3 separate regions of the Homo sapiens genome follow, and all the other regions are linked to region 1. The links are contacts of gene promoters, found by promoter capture Hi-C in blood cells and fetal thymus (Javierre and others, 2016). All regions are on one chromosome and are shown on one strand. Each heading gives the region's core, a stretch centred on a gene start or on the middle of the fragment in contact. The rest is flanking DNA. Distances are from core to core; before and after follow the strand shown.

Region 1 (3,480 bases), core at 366-2,865:
CTTTGGACTTCTAAAGATACCCTGATTCCCCTTTCCCACCATTTATAGATTCGAAAGTAAAAATTTACCTGGCTATATACAAGCATTTAAACCTTGATCTTAAATAGAGGGAGCTTATAGGAAAGTCAACTATATTTTAGAAATATGAAGCTAGTTTTTATATATATATTCATTTAACAAACTTGTGTTGAGCTTCTATCACTGCATCTCTGCGGTATGGCCCTTCATTGATAATAAATCACTAACCTGGTTTCCTTTGTTTATGTGAGGAGAAGAGAAAGGAAGAGAGGAAAAACAGTTACCTGTAATACAATTTTTGTCCAAGTATGACTGCTAACAATTATCTCTAAAAATAATATAATCCATAAAAGAAGACTTCATTGAAGGGAGGAAGGGGGCTTTTGAGCCCAGACAAAATATATGCTCAAATATGTAATTTTTAAAAGAAATATGCTACGCAGCTTATATTCTGTATATGTTAAATTTCTCATGAAGCCCAATGAACGATGCCTGTGTATAATTGTGTATTGTATTGTTTGCTTTACAGGCTTTTCCATAACCGTTCACACACACACACACACACACACACACACAACCAGGATTCGCCAGAGAGATATATAACAACTAAATTATTTAAAGCAGGAATTCTATAGGTGTTGGCATATGGAACCTTTCGGTCCTCAGAAGTTCCATTCACAGACTGCATTAACATTCCATAGGACACAAAAGCGCATGCCATGACAAAGACCTTCAAGTACAAACATACAAAGACACGCTTCTAAAAACGCCCCTAAAGCCAAGTTCACAGCTGGCACTTGTGGCACACACAAGCCACTGCTGAGACAGCTGTCACAGGCCAATCACACACACCCAAGAGTGCCAGCGTGCTACCTAAGGAAGACAAGCTGATGATCAGCGCACAAATCCCCAACCCAATAAAGAAAAGCCCTAAATCCCCACCCTGGAAAGCACAATGCCTGCACCACCCAGAAAACTCCTTAAAAAAATGAAAGATCGGAGGTTTAGAAGCAACTAAACACTAGTTTACAGCAATACAGTAAAAGGGGAGTTTTATTTGGACATTCACGAGAAAGGAGCCACAATATTCAATCCTCGCGGAAGTATTATCAGCTAGCACAAGGCTTTGTCCCCCAACTGGAAAAAGGGGAAAGGAGGAGGGCGAGGAGAGATGCAGACCCTAAGACCCTGCAGCACCTCCCTCTCGGGCAGTGCACTGGGGCTGCGGCGAACTCCGCTTCCCAGGCCCCCTCCCACCCCGTGCTAGCCACCGCCTCCCACCGCAGGCCCGGTTGCCTCGGGCTCTCCTACCTTGGCTTTGCCGGCCTCCAGCTTCTTCTGTCTCTCCTCGTCCTCCATGGCCTCTGCAAGGAAGGCAGGGGAAAACAGGGGTTGAGGGGTGGTTGGGGATAGAAAGGAAAGGTCGATTTGGACGGAGGTGGGACGGCAAGCTCCACGGCCTAGAGAGCCGATTCGGTCCGGCGCTCCCCCGCCCGAAGTGGAAGCAGTCTCCGCGCTCACTGGCGGATCGTCCTCAGCCGCACGGGAAGCGCCGTCACCGCCGCCGCCGCCGCCATCTTCGTCTCCACGTAAACACACGGCGAGGCGGGAGGGGCTGGAACGTCTGTCCGCGCAGCCGCCTCGTGGGCAGGTGCTCCTGGGGTGCCGCCCCGGCCCAGCCCTCCGGGGTCAACCCTTGCCAGGCCTGGGACCTGCCTCCTACCAGCGAGGATCCCGCCGTAGAGAGCGCCCTTCCCGCACATCAACGGCTCACAGGTGGCGGCCGAGCTGAGGGGTAGGAGAGACGGAGTGTGCCAGAGGCTCCTGGCCTGACCCCCACCCTCCGTCCGAGGAATCCACTGCTATTAAAACATGAGTTTTTTTTTTCCTTCAGGTTACAAAACTAACACACCTAATGGTGAAATTGGCGAACACCTACAAGCTCCAACGGAAAAGTTCCGGTGGGGGGTGGTGGGGGGGCGGACGCCAGGTTTTCTACCTACATTAACTGCTTGACTCAAGAATTATGAGAGCAGCTAATTGCTCTTATTACTTCCTTAGCCTGAAAAGTCCCTCCCTCTTCCCTCCACTGGTTCCCACTCAATCTCCGGTTCATCCTTATAGTCCCATCGCACACGCTGCCTCCAAATGGCTTTTCTGACCTCTTGTTCCCTCCACGGCAACCGAGACACATCCAGTCAAAACTTAGTCCCCTCCCCCGACTCTTTGGGGCTTCCCTTTAACAGTAGTGTTCTGAAAGGAGCCTGAGCTTTAGAACCTCGGTTAGGGACAATGCCAGACTACACTAACTTTCTAGCGTTAATGACAAGTTACCTATCCTCCCTGAGCCTACCTGGAATTTTTGGAAGGGTTGTTAATATATGTGACTGCCCTGACATATTAAAACGTCCTGAATAATGTCAGCTTTATTTCTCCTTGGACTTCCTTTAAGTACCCTGCACCATATTTTAATAATTTGTGTGCGTCTTAGTTCAGCTCATACTCCCAGCTCCTTGATGACAGAGACTCATCATAAGTCTTGCTCATCTTGGCTTTACTAAAATGACCAGCACAGAGCTCTGCACTCAATAAACGCTTTTTGGATTGAATTGAGCAGTGTTTATAAATTTAACATTACTATCTTTCCTTGTTTCCCCGACATGTGCTCCCTCAGTCCTTTGTGTTCGTCTCCCTGCCCTCCAATGCTCACATCCATTCCTGGAGTGAACTACACATTTTAATGTCTCTGGTTGATTACTCAGATTTATCATGTTTCTCCGTTGCTTTGAGCTAGGTTGGACTGAAAAACTAGCAGTTGTGAACAAAAAATAGGCTAAAATGAGTTCAAGCGTAGAAGTGGTGTTAAGTGAAAAATTGAGGTTAAAAAACAAAAAAGGAGATAATAAAGACCTTAAGTCTACCACAAACTGAAGATGAGTTTTAAATAGCCCTCATTTAGAAATCTTAGCTTTAAAAAAGATTTTTTTCTTAAGCTCCGTAATGCATACATTCTGCCAACTTCTAACAGCCAAGTGCATATTGTCCTGTTATCTCAACCTGAATTAGGAACCAGGTAAAATTAGACATTTTATCATAGGGATGAAAGAATTGAGGCAATAAGTGATTTACTTAGTCACCCATCAAATTAAGAGTAAGGACTAGAACTAAGTGTTCTAATAGTGCAGTGATTTAAATACTGCCTGGATTGAGGGATTATGAGTGTAGATGCTGATTGCCTAGGAGGGGGAAGCCCCAGGGTATCCAAAGCTATTCCTGTTTGTTAAAGGATACTGCTTTCTCGGTGACTAAATAAGTCAGCTGTTTGTAGGTGCTGAGAATGTTCAAGAATACCTTCCAAAGCAACAAGATTATTTCAATGTTTCCTTCACTGATAGCAGCCAATCATATACATGTCTAGTTTACATAATGGGTGCTCAATCAATGTTGAAAGTTAGATTTGTG
Region 2 (3,480 bases), core at 602-3,101, 890 kb after region 1:
GCATTATTATAATGCAGTTATTCTAACTATCAAATGAGATAATATATTAAAATGCTTTGTAAATAATAAAATATAGCATAAAACGTAAGGTGTTATCACCATAGTATTTTATTTCTGAAATGATTTACTTCCTCCCTCTGGAACAAAAAAGTGTGGACCTGTTTGGTTTTGGGGTCCCAGTCAGGCCAGAGAAGAGGAAGGACTTAAAGAGACGGCTTTTTTTTTTGCCTCATTACAAAGCCTTGATACAGCTAAGTCCGTATGTAAACATTCCCTTTAAGGTCAATGTGTCTGTAGGATTAGTTTTTAGCAGAGTGTGTTTAAAATATCACCATTCCCCAATTGCCTCCAATGGCAAATTCTTTATATTATTTCATTCGTTGGGAGACAGTCCATTTTCTTCAAAGTTTCCTGAATCAAATAGTCTTTTCCATTGGCTAACTTTTCCTTAGAAGTAATATAACCACTTTAGAAATGCTCTATTCTCTTGCTTGATTTTGGAAAATATAATTATTTTATTCTAAATTTCATCACTTTTAATTGCTTCTGGTCTAGCAGCATTTTTTTCCTCACTGAACTTCACAGTGTATTCCTTTTTGAGCATCTGAATAATCCATTAAATAGTTTTTGAATGTACCTTTCCCTTTTGTTGGAAGCATTTGAGAGATGAAAGTATCATACATGGAATCTACACATTATTTCAGTGCTAAACCATTTTATACGAAGTGTTATTGGTGGTTTTGTGTAGATATTTTACCAAATACAGAGATCAGATCCTCCCTACTTCTCTGCTTTTTAAAATAGTCTAATTGTCAGTAAACTGTTCTTTAGCAGGGCAATGAGAAATTGTAATACACATTCAGTAGAATGCTATTTCATAATGAAAGCTGGAAAACAAAAACACAAACACACTCAGGAAGTGAGACCCAGGGAGACCTGGAATCTACTTCCACCTCTGACACTAATGTTAGGGAAGTTCTTTAACATCTCTGGACCTCAGGTTCCTAACTTCACAAGAAGAAAGCCAGACTAGATGCTCCCTGGGGTTCCCTCTAGCTCAAACATTCACTTTGCTTAAGGCACAATCAAACACCACTCGCACTCTCAGCTCATGCAGCCCCAGGGTACTCTTTGACAGCTAGAAATTACAAAGCCTTGACAGAACTCTTCATCCATTACTCTGATTCTACTGGTCTGGAGAACCTCAAATGTCTACGTGTATTCCGCCCTGATCTGGGGTTACCACAATTCTATGAAGCTTAAACAACCCCTCAAACATGCATGCAAGATGCATCTTTTAAAAATGATAAGTCTGTCTTATAACAGCAACAAAAAAATTGCACTGTCACTTTAGCAGAGACATATGAACCACAGCACCTGTCGATGGGATGTAGCAGGGGGTAAACCTGGTAGAAGAAAGTGATCCTGGGATTCACATAGGGGAGCCTCTCATTATCCCAGGAGGAATTTATAGCAGAGAGCCTTATGCAAAAGCCTCCTGTTAGTGAATAACTATGAACCCATGAAAAGGAATATGATTTATTTTTACAGTGGACTCTCACTTTGTGTTAGAGCATGGGTTTGCCTGTGATGAATCTCACACCAAGTTATGGAATTACTGAAATACTGAGAACACCACAGCACAATCTCTCACCTCAAGACTTTCCCACAGCAAGTATCCTGAACACAGTGACAAAAGGAAACACTCTGGAATGAGAGAGTGAGGGAGACACAAGGAGACCTACTTTTAAAAGACCATTAACCACAGAACCCTGAGGGTAAGGGAAAAGAAACAGGAAGGTAATCAGGTTCAAAAAAGAAACAAGCCCATTTTCCATTTCTTTTAAGAGAAATTTAAATAGAAGTAAATGATGGAAAAATAGCAGCTTCCAAGGTTAGACTCTGATATAGTTTGGATGTCTGTCCCTTCCAAATCTCATGTTGAAATGTGATCCCCAATGTTGGAGGTGAGGCCTGGTGGGAAGTGTTTGGGTCATAGGGGCAGATCCCTCATGAATAACTCAGTGTCTTCTCCAGGATAATGAGTGAGTTCTTGCTCTATTAATTCAGGTGAGAGATCTGGTTGTTAAAAAGAGCCTTGTATTGGTGTAATATTTTAATATTTGTGTGTATTACTGTACATATTTTCCCAGAGATCAGATCTTCTCTACTTTTCTGCTTTTTAAAATAGTCTAATTGCCAGTAAACTGTTCTTTAGAAGGACAATGAGAAATTGTGATGCACATTCAGTAGAATGCTATTTCATAATGGAGGCTGGAAAACAAAAGTAAAAGCAAAAGCACACTCAACTAAGACCCACGGAGACATGGGATCTACTTTCACCTCTGACACTAACTTTAGGGAAGTCCTCTCTTCTCTTTCGCTCCCTCTTTTACCATGTGACATGCATGCTCCCCCTTCACCTTCTCCTGATTGGAAGCTTCTTGAGGCCCCCACCAGAAGCAGATGCTGGTGTCATGCTTCTTGTACAGCCTGCAGATCCTGGAGCCAACTGAATCTCTTTTCTTTGTAAATTACTTAGTCTCATGAATTCCTTTATAGCAACACAAATGAGACTTACACAGACTCCTTATTGTATGTAACATGCACATACTTTATAATATATAATACCATTGTGACCTGTTGTAGTTGCCTGGTTGCTATGGGAATATGCTGAGCTTAAGTTTTGTGTAAGCACAGAAGAAGATATACAGGTTATATAGTAAAGAATAAAGTTCAGTTTTTAACTAATTGTTCTTTCACTATTTCAATAATTATTTTAAAAATGTTTCTCCATTTTTGTTATATATTTTTTTTTTCCAAGGGAAAACCATGTTGAGTTCTGGGATAATCATAGGAATTGAAAAAGGGAGGTCATTTTATTCACAGTACATTTCATCGCCTCTCCCCTGGATTCCTGTTATAGCCTCCTAAGGGGTCCCCCTGCTTCTTCTCTGGCCCCCAATTCTCAGTATAATAGCTGGGGTGGTCTTACTAAAACATAAACCAGCTCCTGTGCTGCCTTGTTCAAAATCTTCTAGAGCTTTCTATCTCACTCAGATCAATGGTAAAGGACTCAGGGTATCCCTCAAGGCCCCACGTCGTCTATGACTTCATTATCAGCCCTCCACTCCTCCCCATTCAGGGCATTGGTACTTGCTCTTGTCTCTGCCTGAAGAGTTCTTCCCTCAAATATCTTCTTGGCTCTGTCTCTCATATTCTTCAGTCAAATGTCTTCTTTTCAGGGAGGCCTTCCTTGATTACCCTATTTAAACTGTAAATCACCCCCTCCCCTTTCTCAGAACTTCCTGAACCAGTTTCTTGCTCTATTTTCCTCCACAGTACTTATCACCACCCAATATATGATATATTTCACTTACTATATGTCTCTCCCTGTAAGGATCATTTGCTTTTTGTTCAATGCAACATCTCCAGTCCCTAGACATATAAGTGGTGCTCAGGAAATATTGCTGAAATAAT
Region 3 (3,480 bases), core at 366-2,865, 520 kb before region 1:
AAACTTGTATGTGCTTTCTCAGTCTCTTTGAAATATATATATGTATATAATTTTTTTTTTATTTTGAGACGGAGTTTTGTTCTTGTTTCCAGGCTGGAGTGCAATGGTGCAATCTCGGCTCAACCTCCGCCTCCGGGTTCAAGTGATTCTCCTGCCTCAACCTCCCTGGTAGCTAGGATTACAGGCATGTGTCACCATGCCTGGCTAATTTTTTTGTATTTTTAGTAGAAATGGGTTTCATCATGTTGGCCAGGCTGGTTTCGAACTCCTGACCTCAGGTGATCCACCTGCCTTGGCCTCCCAAAGTGCTGGGATTAAAAGCATGAGCCATCATGCCCAGCCTGAAATACATATACAGATATATATATTTAAAAACTGAATCAGCCTTTTGTCAGCTTTATGACCTAGGAATGTCTTTCTCAAGGATCTGGGAAATGTAAACATTACCAGATAGCATACCTATCTTCCAGTTTCTGTGGGAGGGTAACAGCCTAATCTTAATGAGTACCTTGCACCAAGCTATAAAAGTAACTCCTGTTTCCACACTCCCCCACCCCCGAAAAGTTGATATCTTAGATAACACAAGTGGTCACATCAATTATCAGGTAAAGTTAGAATGAACTGTGTGACCAGTGGTGCTGTCAAGTTCTCTTAGTTGAGGACTATTTATCTCGAAAACATACATGTAATGGGCTGTACCTGCTTGGCTGTACAAAATGGTGAAATTTCCTTCTGTCTTTGTGATCTCTTAGCAAAGTGCCTGTGATGTGCATCACATTCTCATTTAATTTTTATTCAATAATAAAGCTTATCTTTCTCTACTGCCTTCATGGAGAGGATTTCTGGGTTGAGAGAAGATTTTGTTTTTTAAATTATATTTCCCCAACAGCACCTTCACCCTTTATTCTAAAACTGCTGGCTGGGTGTGGTGGCTTATGCCTGTAATCACAACCCTTTGGGAGGCCAAGGTCGGAGGACTGCTTGAGGCCAGGAGTTTGAGAACTAGCCTAAGCAATATAGTGAGACCCCATCTCTTAAAAAAAAATAGCTGGGCATGGTAGTGCACAACTGTGGTCCCAGCTACTCAGGAGGCTGAGGTAGGAGGATCACTTGAGCCTGGGAGGTGGAGGCTGCAGTGAGCAGTGATCACAACAGTGCACTCCAGCCCGGGTGACAGTGCAAGAACCTGTTTCAAAAAAAAAATAAAATTGCTGTCTTTTTCACTCACACCTTCACTATTCATGGGGAGAAGTGTGTAAGGTATAACAGTCTTTTTGTAATAAACCTCCCCACTTCCACTCTTCTAATCAGAAGTAGAGATGATGTTATGAGAAGTTGAGATTAAGGTTGTAGCTTTTCTTTTTTCTTTTTTTTGAGACCGAGTCTCACTCTGTCGGCCCAGACTGGAGTACAACGGTGCGATCTTGGCTCACTGCAACCTCCCCACTGCCCAGGTTCAAGTGATTCTCCTGCCTCAGCCTCCTGAGTAACTGGGATTACAGGGATGTGCCACCACGCCGGGCTAATTTTTGTATTTTTAGTAGAGACGAGGTTTCACCATGTTGACCAGGCTAGTCTTGAACTCCAGGCCTCAGGTGATCCCCCAACCTGGCCTCCCAAGGTGGGGGATTACAGGCATGAGCCACCATGCCTGGCAGATTGTAGCTTTTTTGTTTACAGTTTGGTAATTACTTCATGCCAGTCTGTCATGTTTAATAAACAACACAGGTTAGTGATTGCTTTTTTTCTTTTTTTTTTTGAGATGGAGTTTCCCTCTTGTCATCCAGGCTAGAGTGCAATGGCGTGATCTTGGCTCACTGCAACCTCCACCTCCCAGATTCAAGTAATTCTCCTGCCTCAGCCTCTGGAGTAGCTGGGATTACAGGCAGCGGCCACCACAGCCAGCTAATTTTTGTATTTTTAGTAGAGATGGGGTTTCACCATGTTGGCCAGGCTGGTCTCAAACTCCTGACCTCAGGTGATCCACCCGCCTCGGCCTCTCAAAGTGCCAGGATTACAGGCATGAGCCACTGCACCCAGCCAATTGCCTCTTCTTCAACAGAAAAGAAAGAAAATGAAACTATGTAAGTTCAGCCATGTGCAGGGATGCTTTAGAAATAACATTTAGATTTTTAATTTGTATTAGATTCTTTGGACCTAGTACTGTATTTCTCACAGTAGCATTTACCCAATTTCTTTCGGATCCTACGTATGGCAGTTCAGCAGTGACATTTCCATGGTATTTTCTTAACTTCTTTAGGCCTCATTTTTCCTATCTGTAGAATGAGGGAGTTAGATTAGATGGTCTCTAAATCCGTACATCTACAAAGAATATGAATCTTTGAAAAATTGTTTTCTTTATCTGGATCACAAGCCACTATCAATCTATGAGAATCTGCACTGGAGTTGAAGAAACAAGCTTTATTCACAAAATCAAATTTTATTTGCCTAGAAATGTTCGGCTTACAAAACCTGAAATGAACTCTTTGGAAGCTCCTCTATGGCATTATTCTGATGCTCAGGGCATCAACATGCTGGGACACTCCCTTGCCTAACCTCTGTGCCCAGGGGCCCTGCCTGAGGACGCTGGCAGGATTCTCTAGCTTGCTCTGAAAAACGATGCCTTTGCTGAAGCCACTCTTCTGGTTGTCCTTTTATGGCCTGTCCCCATTTCAGTGATTCCCCTGCAAGCTGAAGCATGCAGCAGTTAGACCAGTTTTTCCATTCTTCTTAATTCCCAAGGCCCTTTCCTAGGCTTTCATAATGCAAGACACAAGGACAGATGATTATTATTTCTAGGCTTCGGATATTTGTGCAGAGGACTAGAGTTGAGAAAGGGAGCCTTGACTGTGGTAGGCCTGAATGTGTTCTAAGTTTGGACATGACCTCAGAGTGAGCACTGAGGCTGGCCCACAGGCCAGAAACCCACAAAAATATGGCTGTCCATCTTGCCCACCTGCCTAACAGTTTGTCCCATAAAAGCATTAAATTAGGAGACAGAAATCAACTAGGTGCAGAGTTTTGTTACTGCATTGCACGTCTCCTGAGTTCTCAAATCCGTATTTTCAATTATCTAATGGATATTCAAGTCCAGGAGATGGCTCACAGTCCTCACATTACAAAACAGAACACACACCTCACATCACATGCAAATCTCCACCTAGCCTTGTTTACTAACTGGGAGATTTTTAAATTATAAGAATCAAGTAGGATCTTTGCCCACGTATTTTTTTAAGAGTTTTTCACCTACCAAAAAGTTGTACTCAATGTCTTCCTTAATTCATCCTCCTCACTCAGTCTCTATTTACAACTGGTTATTAAATTCTGTTGACTTTATCTCCTATATATCTATTTTTTAAAGATTATGGTAAAATATGCATAACAAAACTTACAATTTTAACCTTTTTTTTGAGACTAAGTCTCGCTCTGTCCCCCAGGCTGGAGTGCAGTGGCGCAATCTCAACTCACTGCAACCTCTGC

Evidence for each region. The method cuts DNA at HindIII sites, captures the fragments that hold promoters and counts their contacts. A CHiCAGO score of 5 or more calls a contact.
Region 2: a contact is called between a fragment that was not itself captured here and the fragment with the promoter of AKAP9 in region 1, in 1 of 17 cell types (monocytes). The highest score is 6.9, in monocytes.
Region 3: a fragment that was not itself captured here is called in contact with the fragment with the promoter of AKAP9 in region 1 in 1 of 17 cell types (erythroblasts); the score reaches 5.1 in erythroblasts.

What each region holds. Positions count from the first base shown.
Region 1 is chr7:91,938,997-91,942,476 of GRCh38, reverse strand. It overlaps AKAP9 (A-kinase anchoring protein 9), which reads right to left and starts at 1,615. Exons shown (of 50, transcript NM_005751.5): 1 at 1,330-1,615. The coding sequence starts at 1,377. LOC124901698 (a long non-coding RNA gene) reads left to right here and starts at 1,626. Exons shown (of 2, transcript XR_007060431.1): 1 at 1,626-1,813; 2 at 1,913-2,627. RefSeq lists enhancers at 1,325-1,474, 1,513-2,074 and a silencer at 1,675-1,784. The HindIII fragment of the contact is 23,233 bases long and covers 1-3,480 here.
Region 2 is chr7:91,049,750-91,053,229 of GRCh38, reverse strand. The region is part of intron 11 of CDK14 (cyclin dependent kinase 14); the gene reads right to left. Among named protein-coding and RNA genes, the nearest start is that of FZD1, 210 kb to the left of the region's middle. RefSeq lists an enhancer at 2,220-2,279. The HindIII fragment of the contact is 1,182 bases long and covers 1,261-2,442 here.
Region 3 is chr7:92,463,898-92,467,377 of GRCh38, reverse strand. It overlaps a transcript of GATAD1 not described here. Among named protein-coding and RNA genes, the nearest start is that of ERVW-1, 12 kb to the left of the region's middle. The HindIII fragment of the contact is 1,612 bases long and covers 810-2,421 here.